Regions from separate parts of the Homo sapiens genome. Here regions 1 and 2 are each linked to region 3. The links are contacts of gene promoters, found by promoter capture Hi-C in human tissues and cell types (Jung and others, 2019). All regions are on one chromosome and are shown on one strand. Each heading gives the region's core, a stretch centred on a gene start or on the middle of the fragment in contact. The rest is flanking DNA. Distances are from core to core; before and after follow the strand shown. Region 1 holds the start of SLC6A9 (solute carrier family 6 member 9). Region 2 holds the start of ZNF691 (zinc finger protein 691). Region 3 holds the start of CDC20 (cell division cycle 20).

Evidence for each region. Contacts are between HindIII fragments. The study calls those that stand out against the background at their distance.
Region 1: a contact is called between the fragment with the promoter of SLC6A9 here and the fragment with the promoter of CDC20 in region 3, in 1 of the 25 tissues and cell types used here (psoas muscle).
Region 2: a contact is called between the fragment with the promoter of ZNF691 here and the fragment with the promoter of CDC20 in region 3, in 1 of the 25 tissues and cell types used here (hippocampus).

Annotation. Positions count from the first base shown.
Region 1 is chr1:44,030,136-44,033,647 of GRCh38, reverse strand. It overlaps SLC6A9 (solute carrier family 6 member 9), which reads left to right and starts at 2,186. Exons shown (of 14, transcript NM_001024845.3): 1 at 2,186-2,342. LOC107984948 (a long non-coding RNA gene) reads right to left here and starts at 3,234. Exons shown (of 2, transcript XR_007066054.1): 1 at 3,099-3,234. LOC124904168 (a long non-coding RNA gene) reads left to right here. Exons shown (of 4, transcript XR_007066055.1): 3 at 1-3; 4 at 921-1,105. RefSeq lists silencers at 2,645-2,714, 3,035-3,512 and an enhancer at 2,456-3,052. The HindIII fragment of the contact is 16,348 bases long and covers 1-3,512 here.
Region 2 is chr1:42,844,568-42,848,110 of GRCh38, reverse strand. ZNF691 (zinc finger protein 691) reads right to left here and starts at 1,498. Exons shown (of 4, transcript NM_001242739.2): 1 at 1,454-1,498. ZNF691-DT (ZNF691 divergent transcript) reads left to right here and starts at 1,697. Exons shown (of 5, transcript NR_186083.1): 1 at 1,697-1,854; 2 at 3,427-3,543. ERMAP (erythroblast membrane associated protein (Scianna blood group)) reads right to left here. Exons shown (of 12, transcript NM_001017922.2): 12 at 3,120-3,543. RefSeq lists enhancers at 1,462-1,531, 1,692-1,961. The HindIII fragment of the contact is 6,395 bases long and covers 1-2,810 here.
Region 3 is chr1:43,356,863-43,360,388 of GRCh38, reverse strand. It overlaps CDC20 (cell division cycle 20), which reads right to left and starts at 1,408. Exons shown (of 11, transcript NM_001255.3): 1 at 1,383-1,408; 2 at 993-1,222; 3 at 751-899; 4 at 568-664; 5 at 292-420; 6 at 1-196. The coding sequence starts at 1,173. CDC20-DT (CDC20 divergent transcript) reads left to right here and starts at 1,716. Exons shown (of 4, transcript NR_183650.1): 1 at 1,716-1,839; 2 at 2,281-2,347; 3 at 2,489-2,586. RefSeq lists silencers at 1,220-1,369, 1,560-1,669 and enhancers at 1,112-1,620, 1,960-2,019, 2,131-2,639. The HindIII fragment of the contact is 17,818 bases long and covers 1-3,526 here.

The sequences.
Region 1 (3,512 bases), core at 937-3,436, 670 kb before region 3:
AAGGTGGGTAAAACACACATATCCATGAATCTGTTTCTATGTATACAAATAGACTTTGAGCTATGCCAGTGTTAGTCTAATAAAGCCCTCTGGCCAACATCCCCAATCTCCCTAAACACTCCAAGGAAAATTTTCTCTTCACCCCACGTCCCTGTCCCTAGGTTAGTCCCCAAGCCTTCCTCTTTCTGACGGAGCCTCAGAGGGCTGGCCCCTGAGCACCCATCCTCCTCTCTTCTAACAGCCCAGGCCCCAAGCCCCTAGGCCTGAGGGCATCCTGGAAGTCTGGCTTGCAGCACCCTACACCTGCCTCCCTTCATATGGATTCCCTGAGCCATGAAAACTCTCGGAATCTTCACTGAGTGTTCTTAGCGCTCAGTGCCCTCTTCTAGGCCTGTCCCCACCCCAGCCTACTGCTGGAAGGGAGAAGGAGGGAGGCCTTTTCCCCTTCATACTCTTCCTTGTCCGCCTTCCTCTACTTGGGGGCCTCTTCGACATCCTCCATCTGCCTTCCCTGGGGTGGTATCCCTTTTGATGAGCCCCAGCGAGGAGGCAAGGAGGAAGATCCTAAAAAAAACTTATGGAGGAAGTTACGTCCTGGCAGGAGAGATATAGAGGGCTTGGACCCCATCTGCCCAGTCCCAGGAATTGAGCACACACATAACTACACAGACCTGCTGCAGTGCACACAATCAGTCTTCCACAGATGTACCTACACAAATACACAATCGGGGCTCAGGTGTCTGGGGGCACAGACACAACAGGTTGCCTAGATCCAGGTGTGTGTGCACACAACTCACGCAAGAAACACCTGCACTTGGCTTGTAGGAGACTAAAAATCCCAAACATGCTATACCTACTAGGTTTGGGGACAAAGTAAAAGTGAAAATAATCTCGCTGATAAGACTAAGGTGTCTTCCCAGATCTGATCAGGAGTCCAATGTGAATAGGAGACAACAGAGAGCTGTCTTTGTACTTTGGCTCTGAGGAAGGTTTGTGGAATGGACCGCGTGTGGCCTGAGAGAGCTCGCATTTCAGGGAATGCCTGGGCTTGATGCCTGTTATCTTGTTCAGTGCCTCTGATAAATTAATAAACTGGAATCTCACTCAACAATTGGTTTCACGTGAGTTTGGCATGTGTGCACTCGCTTCTTGGAGGCTGACTGTCCCAAGGAAAAAAATTAAACTGTTTCCTGGCCAGAAAATGGTGAGGACTCAGGGTCCAAAGTAGAAATTGCCTCTGTGGGCTGGGCCCCTTCCCTGAGCAGATGCCCTACTCAGGTTGGGGCAAAAACCAGTTCCTCTGACAGAACTAACTGGCCACTCTCCATGAAAGGTGGTGGCTCTCACAAGGTATGCAAATGTGGGAGGCTCATTCCAAATGCCAGCCACCACTCCCCAGAGGCAGCCTGGAGCAATGGGCTTTATATACACACACATGCATTTCCTTAGCCCCTTCTCTCTGTTTCACAGAGGAGGAAACCGAGGCTCACCATGCTCCTTTTGGCAAAGACTCTTTTTTAGCTGAGATTGTAACCCAGGTCTGTCTCACCATGGAAGGAGGAGGGATCCCAGGTTGGTGTCTGCAGCCCCTGTAACACCACCTCAAAAGTAGAGCTGACCAAGCCGGTGGTCCAGGAGGGAAATTTGAGAAAGGGCTACCCCGAGCCCTCCAGTTCCAAGGAGTAGGACCTAGGCCTTACCCAGCAATGCCCACAGTCTCTAGCGGCTCTGCTCCAAAGGGAATGGAATTTGCTCTGACTTCTCTCTAGGGGAAACGCAGGCGCAGAAGGCCAGGGGCCTGGAGGGCTAACTCCAGCCTCAGCCCCCCATAGTGCCCCAGGCCTTCTGGCTTCATTCCAGCCTAGCCCGAAGGGGCCCACATCTGCTTGCTCAAGGGCCCCAGCTGGAGGGCAGCGAGGCAGGGGCGGAGAAGGGGACTCCTTTGTGGCGCTCACTCCCAGGGGTTCGTGGGGATCAATCATCTGAAAGCTGGAGAGACTTGTAATTTTATTCCCTGGGAGGAGGAGCCTGAGAAGTCGGCACGGGAGGAGGGGATGGGATGGAGAGGGGAGGACGGCCAGGGGAGCCGTTCGGGTAGGGGAGGGACTTGGCTAGATCTCCCAAGCCTTCTCCACTCTTCAAACTTTCACCAAACTCTTAGCCCCCGCCTCCCCGAAACCAAAACACAACAGGCTGTGGAAGAGCTGCGAGCGGCGCGGCGGGGCGGGCGAACTCGGCGCGGCACAGAGCCTCGGGAGGCTGATGCAACTTTCCCTTTAAGAAAGCCACCTGGGCGCACCGCGGTGCGGACCCAGCACGCCTGGGCCGGGGGCTGCAGCATGGTAAGGGGGCTGGGGGAAGGGACGCTGGGGCCCGCGCCTCCGTCTGTCCTGCCGTCGGTCTGAGTGTTCGGCGGCTCCGCGGGGCTGAGCCCCAGGACCAGCGTGTGCGTGTGTGTGTGTGTGTGTGTGTGTGTGTGTGATCGCGCATGTATGCGGGCATCTGTGGGTAAGAGTGTGGGTGCACGCACCGGGATGTCTGTCTCGCCGCAAAGATCGGGGTAGGTGCGCGCGTCTGGGTGTCACCGCTGTCACCAAGGAGCTGAAGCGGGAGGGAGAGGGAAGTGGGGGGAGCTCCTGCGTGGGGTGGCGGGGGGGCGCCAGACGCCGGTTCGATCGGGGGCGGCGGGCGCAGGCTGTGCGGGTAGCGCCGGAGCCAGAGCGTGGCACTGTCCGTCCGAGGAGCCAGTGGTTCTGCGCTCTGGGGGCCTGCAGGGGTCGACAGTCGGCCGTGCCTGCACCCAGCGTGCGGGCTCCCGCTCGCTCCATCGCCTCTCAGCGCCCGCCAGCCTGGCTGCCTATCTGGCCCCTCCAGCCGGCCTGCCTCCCTATCTGCCCTCCCGGTGCCGGTTCCAGTGCCCGTGCGCCCGCGGGACCCGGGAAGCCGCGCGGGAGAGTCCTGGCGCACTCAGCCTCTCTTTGTCCGCGCTCTGGCCGCGGCTTTGGGAAGGGACTGCGAGCGAGCCGGGAGTTCTCTGGGGGTTGCTACCCTGGGAAGAATCCGTGCCCTCCCCACCCCAACCCTCATTACCGGCACACCTAGGGCGGGGCCGGGCGGCCGCAGGTGAGGGCAGGGGCCTAGCAGCCCTGGAGAGCCCACCCCCGGCCGGCGCTCCGCACCCGGCAGCCACTGCAGATCTCGAGCAGGCGGCGGGGCCGGGCCGGGCGGGAGAGTGGGGCTTGCCCGGAGGGCCGGGAGGGGCCGGTGCCGGCCCGGGGGCGGGGCCGTGGGGCGGGGACCTCGGCGCCCCGGTACTTTTCCACCGCAGGGGCCGGGGGCGGGGCCGCCGCCTCCACGCCAGCTTAGGCCCACACGTGGCGGCTGATGTAACGCCCGTGCCCCCACATCTCTCTCCCCGATTAAAGCGGACGCGCCCCACTTCGAGGAACCGGGACGCTGCGGGCGGTGCCGCTGCTCCCAGACCGACCGCGCCCCTGCCCGCCGGCCGGAGG
Region 2 (3,543 bases), core at 249-2,748, 510 kb after region 3:
AGGATTATGATTACCACTCAGTTTGTGATACAGTGTACTGAAACAGACCGTGAACTCCAGAAATTGTCATACAATGCAGAAGGTTAAGTTCAGGGGACAGGGGCAGGAACTGTGCCTTAGTCACCTTTGTACCCACTCCTCAGTGTCTAACACAGCACCTGGCACATTATTAACATTTTTTTAAAGCTCGAATCAAGTGCTAAGCTGTGGACTAAGGACCATATATGAATCATCTAATTTCACTTCACATCATCCTTATTTTAGAGATGAGAAAGCTGAGGCTCAGAGAAATTAAGTATCTTGCCCAAGGGCACACAGCAAGTAAGTGGCAGAACTGGGGCCTATGCCCATCACTTCAAAGTCAGTGCTTTTAACCATTATACTATTACTGAAGGAAAAAAGGAGAGAAGACGGGAAGGAAGGAAATAAAAACAGTACCACTGAAGTTCACATGATACAGATGTATCTCCCTGATGAAATCAGGGCTGAGAAGTTTCAAGGAGGAGTAGGTATTTGACCTAAGGTTTGCAGGATGGGTAAGACTGGGACTTGCAGAGATAAAGAGGCAACTACCTACTGAGAAGACAGTGCAGCTGAAGTACAGAGGCACTTTCATATCACACTGCAGAGATCTGGGGGGAAAAGGGGTCTATTGGGCTTTGTCTTCCTGGTGGCTCAGCTGCACAGAGAGAAGCAACGGTGGAAGGGGCTGAGAAGTGGAGGAGGGGCCAGGTCTAAGAAGTTAAGAGCCAAGAAGATGGGGCTAGTGATCACAGATGATGAAGGTGAAGCGCCTAGGTTAAAGGCAAGGGGCCAAGCCATAGTGCGGTATGGAGGTCCGAAGTTACAGGTCTTTGGGGCCAAGTCAAGGGCTGCAGGGAGGAAGAGGAGAGAGGAGCTATGAAAGACCAAGAGCAAGGTGCTAACAGGGTAATTGTACAGGGAAGCTAGATAACGGGTCAGAGATACAGGAGGACCAAGGAAGTCAGAGGGTCGCAGGAGACGGTCAGGGAAGAGGAAGCAAAGGCTGCCAGAAGTGTCACAGGCCAGGGCCCAAGAGCTGAGTTGTGTGTTGCGGGGCGGGGAGAAGCCAATGGCGGAGGTCCAAGGGTACAAGAGCTGGTTTCAGAGATTGCCGGCGGGCTTGGGGCCAGAGAGGTGGGAGAGGAGGAGGGGCTGATCCTAAACGTATGGTCAGCGGCAGGAAGGCTGTATACTCAAACCCAACAGAAGGGCCGGGGAATGGGTTGGGGACAGCCACCTGGCTGCGTGGGCCGGGGGCCAGGGCGAGGGTCGCGGCGGAGGGACCACAAGGCCCCTTGGCTTCCCACTCGGTCCAGGGAGCAAAGCAGCAGCATCCAGATCCTCGGTGAGAGGGAAGTGGCCGTGTACAGAGTTTCCCGCGAAGTCGTGTCCGCCTCCCCCCGCGACCTCGGGCCCAACCCGGACCCACCTCGCTCCCGCCGCTCGATCAGGGACAGCGCCGCCTCTGTAGGCGAGGGAAGGAGCTGGAGCCGGAGCCGGAACCCAGGAAGGATCCGCCCTACTACTCCAGGATTGGTTTCTTGGGATAATTCTTTATTTCCATTGGCTACCATGACTGCCACAACGCAAGCGACCTGGCAGGACCACCAATAAGCTTTGACCGCTGGCGTGGCATGCTGGGAGTTGTAGTCCTAAGGAAGCGCGTAGACTCAGAGAAAACTTGCGAAGTTTAGGATGGAGCTGAAGAGACTGGGTTCCGTCCTACGGTGGGATTTCTTTCCGTGCTCGCGCGTTCAGCCCCAAGTCTCAGGGCCACTCGTCTGGGAAGTTGTAGAATCTGTATAGCCAACCTACACAACCTCCAAGGGGGCAAGTACTCAAATTTCCTTCTTTACTTTGAGTTGGTAATCCTTGACCGTCCTGTAGACGTCCAACGAAGCCTAGAGTCTGGCACCTCACTCAAGGTTTATAACTTAAAATCAAAGGAGGGTAGAGCTGGAAGGGAGTTTAAAGATAAAATAACCCAATCTCCTTATCGGAGAAGCTAAAAGTACCCTGTTCAAGGATCAACCTCCAGGTCTTCCAGCCCCCCTGAGCAGGGATTTTCCCGGGTTCCGCGTGCATCCCTAATTAAGCCTGACACGTGTTCGTCAATCCAGACACAACAAGATCACCAAAGTATCCAGGACTAGGTCTTTTTTTTCAGGTTTTATTTTTTAAAATAATAAAAGGCTAATGAAATACGTAAACTACAGGCTTCTCGTATCTGCACAATGTTTCAGTGCAAAGAACAAGGAGCATTGCCTTCAGAGCTAGATAAACCAAGTATAAAACTCTGGCTCTACCACCTAGCCATTTGGAGTACCAACTCCCTCCCCCATAAAATCCCTGGCAGAATTACTGTGAGGATATTATATATACATACATATATTCTCATGCATGTGTATGTGTATACATATATACATATATATGTATGTATGTTTTATATAGTTGTAAGGTTATAATACATACATATATTGAGGTTATTTCTTGATGACATTAATATTCAAATCAGTAGACTGATATGTATGTACATATATACATGTATAATACACATACATGTGTATATACATATACTAATGTATACATGTGTATATACATGCATACATGTGTGAATATGTATTATACATACATATGTATATATGTGTATACATATACACGTGCATACATGCTAAATACATATACATATATATACACCTATGTAGTACAGATATGTATATACACATACATGTATACATGTGTATATGTGTATGTATGCATATGTGTGTGTATATTATATGTATATTCATGTATGTATGTGTATATGTATGCATGTATTCTGCCTCCACAAGCTGACAATGTGAGTTAGTTTTAAGATTGGGATATTCAGGAATGCATGTTTGGAACTGAATATGGTTGAGTGAAATATGTGTGCCTTATGAACACTATTTGTTTATAAATTGATAAAATAAAATACTAGAGAGCAGACTCAGGAATAAAACTATGGCTTTAGTATGAACGGTGGCTAAACCTTGCCTTGGGGGACTCAAAGCTCTTTGGAAACCAATCTCTTACCTTCCCCACAACTCCTCATTCACAATGAAAATAACAGCATACCAAAACACAAATACCAAACTTTTATTTTAAAACTGTACAAAAGCAAACAAAAAATTCCACTGAGTCACTGTGATAGTTAATCTTATGTATCCACTTAACTGGGTCACAAGATGCCCAGCTATTTGGTCAAACATTATTCTGAGTGTTCCTGTGAGGGTGTTTCTCAATGACATTAACATTCAAATCAGTAGACTGAGTAATGCAGACTGTCCTCCCAAATGTGGGCGGGCCTTGCTGAATCAGTTGAAGGCCTGAATAGAACAAAAGAGCTAACTCTGCCCTAAGAGAATTCTTCCTGCCTAATAGCCTTTGGACAGGACCATCAGCTTTTTCCTTGCCTTCGGACTTGAATTAAACATCATCTCTTCCTTGGCGTCAAGCCTGCTGCCATCAGACTGGAACTAAACCATCAGCTCTCATGGG
Region 3 (3,526 bases), core at 159-2,658:
TGCACCTCAGCACTGCTGGTGCCCACAGCCAAGTAGTTGCCCTCTTTGATCCAGGCCACAGAGGATATATATTCCCCAGGCTGCTCCATTTGCAAAAGCTGCAGGATGTCACCAGAGCTTGCACTCCACAGGTACACACTGTTGTCCAGTGCCACGGCCAGTACATTCCCAGAACTCCAATCCACAAGGTTCAGGTCTGTCAGAGGTGGAGAGAAGAGCATGAGCTTCCTTGTTTGTGTGGTCCCAGGCCCTCTTTCTCCATGCATGAGGCGAGGATAAGGATGCACTTACAATAGTCATTTCGGATTTCAGGCGCATCCAGGATACGGTCTGGCAGGGAAGGAATGTAACGGCAGGTCTTCCGGCTGGAGCCAGGAGTGGCCTTTTGGCTGTAGAGTACTTTCAGTCTGTTCTGATAACCTGTGGCAACGGAGTGAGTCTAGACGCTGGGAAAATCAACACCTCCCTTGCCCTCAATCTTAGATAGGAAGAGGAGACAGATATCTGTGCTCAGCCCTGGAGATGAACTGACACCTCCCTCCAGGAACCAGGAACTTCGGGTCTTACCCTCTGGCGCATTTTGTGGTTTTCCACTGAGCCGAAGGATCTTGGCTTCCTCTACATCAAAACCGTTCAGGTTCAAAGCCCAGGCTTTCTGATGTTCCTGGCATAAAGGGTAGTGAAGGAGCAAGATGGTATTATCCAAAGAACAGTCAGGTCCCGTGCCTTAAGCCCCTCTGGGACACATACCTTCTTGGTGGGCGTCTGGCTGTTTTCAGGCTGGTTCTCCTTGCTCAGGAGGAAGCTGGCCACCTCCATCTGGGCAGCACTGCGATGGGGGATATAGCGGTCACCGCCAGGTTTGCTAGGAGTGGTCTGAACCTTGGAACTGGATTTGCCTGGGGCGGAGAAAGAGAAGACAGTCTGACCAGGCTCCCCAGGGAGAAAGTATGAAGGCTGCTCTCACTCAGTTCCTTTGGCACCTCACTGACCAGGAGTTCGGCCCGGAGTCCTGCCGGCGCTGTGGGATCGGTTGGCGGCCCGCATGGGTGAGGGGGCCGGGCCTGCGGCTTCCTTGGCTTTGCGCTGCCAGCGCGCAGGGGGTGCATTGGGGATGGGTGCATCCAGCTGAAGCAGCGAGTGCAGGTCACTCTCGAACGCGAACTGTGCCATGGGAGCGCCCGCAGGGGGAGGGGTCCTTGCAGTTGGTGCCTACGGAGCCCTGGAGGAAAGGAGGCGACGGTGCTCAGGGGACAGAAAGGGACCCCTTCGCTCCTGGCCGGCCACAAAATCAGGGCCACCCTCGGCTGCAGCCCCTTCCGGCCTAGCACCCCCTCCCCCTGGCCACGGCCCCACCTCGGCTCAGCCCCACCACCTCTCACCGTGCCCTCCGGAGCAGTTCCGACCGGCTTTAACACGCCTGGCTTACGCCTCTTAAACTCTCCGCTCCGAGCGCCTATTGGCTCCTTCAAAATCCAACCGTCGCAACCGTTGCCCTAGCCCATTGGCCTCTCCGGCGAAGGGGGCGGGCCTTCCGGGGAAAGTCTCAGCTATCACGAGAGTCTAGCGGCGGAGCGCGATTTGAAGGGTACGAGAGGGGCTGGGAGCCGGCGCCAGAGGACTAGTACTGGAAAGCCGGCCGGGACAGGGCGGGGCAGGGCGGGGCCGGGTGGGGCCTGCGCTGCCTCAGCGTCCTGGAGTCGTCTCGGTTCGCCCTTTTGCGTGCCTTCCACCGCCGCGAGCTCGGAATGTCTGGCCCCGGGTGCTTCAGGGTCCGAGAACCTGCAGAAGTTCACACTTAAATCCTACACGAGAGTCGTATTTATGATGCAGAACTCGGTGCAGAACCCGATGGAGTGCCCAAGGCGCTTGAGCCGTTCCTAGAAGGGGAAGGAGAGCCGCGGGCGGCAGCGGGGCAGGGGACGGAATTGGGAAGCTTGGGAGCAGGAAGAAGGCCAGAGCTACTTAGGGTACATTCCACTTTTGCTTGGCGCCGGGTAGGAACCCTGCTAGAAAGGAAGTAACGTGTGTTTGTCTCGTTTGCTGTTGTTTTACAAACAGGGAAAATGAGGTTGAAAAGGGTGAATGAATTCCTTAAGGTCAAGAAAAAGGATCGGTATTCAAACCTGCCTATCTGGAAGATAAGCTTAGACTGCCCTACAGGAGGCACTGTGGCTTATCCCCTTGGGGCTTTAAAGATGTGAGGACCTTAGAGATCCATTAGTCTAACCTGTGCGTGGTGCAGCCTCCCCACCCCGACAACAAATCCATATTTTACAGATGGAGAAACGGAGGCCCAGGGAAGGGATGTGCCCGAGGTCATACAAAGAAGTTTGTGGGAATCCAGGTCTGACTCGCACTCAATCTAGTGCTCTAATAATGACTTGAGTGAATTGTATGAATGTGCTCAGAGGTGGAGCAGCAATCATAAAAGTAATAATGGTACCATTTATGGACCATCTAACTACTGTGTTAAAACAATTTACAGGCCATGCGCGGTGGCTCACGCTTGTAATCCCAGCACTTTGGGAGGCCGAGGCGGGCAGATCACGAAGTCAGAAGATCGAGACCATCCTGGCTAACACGGTGAAACCCCGTCTTTACTAAAAATACAAAAAATTAGCCGGGCTTGGTGGCGGGCGCCTGTAGTTCCAGCTACTCGAGAGGCTGAGGCAGGAGAATGGCGTGAACCCGGGAGGCGGAGCTTGCAGTGAGCCGAGATCGAGCCACTGCACTCCAGCCTGGGCAACAGAGCGATACTCTGTCTGAAAAAAAAAAAAAAAGTTTACATACATTATCGAGTTCAATCCTTAATCCCATAAGGCAGATAGATACCCCATCTTCCCTTTACAGAAAAAAGAAACTGGGTCAGAAAGATTAGAAACTTGCCCAAAGGCATGCAGCCAATAATAAGTAGGGGAGCCCAGGATTCAAACTATCTGACTAATCCCTGCAATCTAAACAATACGCTATACTGTCCCAGAAAGAGGCTGGAAAAATCATTTTCAGTCATTAGCTTAAAGTCCACTCCGATGCTTACAGATAATGTTATTATCTTTGACTTGAAGCCTTTGCATTCTCTATTTCCAATTACCTTGGAAAATAAGGAATTGGATATGCTTAGGTTAGAGGTGGGGAATTCCCAGAAAACATAGAAAAGGTTGTCTCATGTCAAGTTGGTCAGGGTCTTAAATGTTAAGCTAAAGACTTTGGACTTCATCTGCTAGGCATTGTGGTACCTGTGGGGTTTCTGTGTAGGGAAGGACCAAATAAAACATCTGAGGGGGGGGATATGGCAATAATTTGCAACTTCTGGTGGTAGCTATAGAGAAGGATAAAGGGTATAGCCTCAGGGAATTTGTACATTTAAAAATAAAGGATTTGGGCAGGTTGTCATGGTTCACTCCTGTAATCCCAGCACTTTGGGAGGCCAAGGCGGGCAGATCACTTGAAGTCAGTAGTTCAAGACTAGTCGGGCCAATGTGGCGAAACCCTGTCTCTACTAGAAGTACAAAATTAGCCAGGT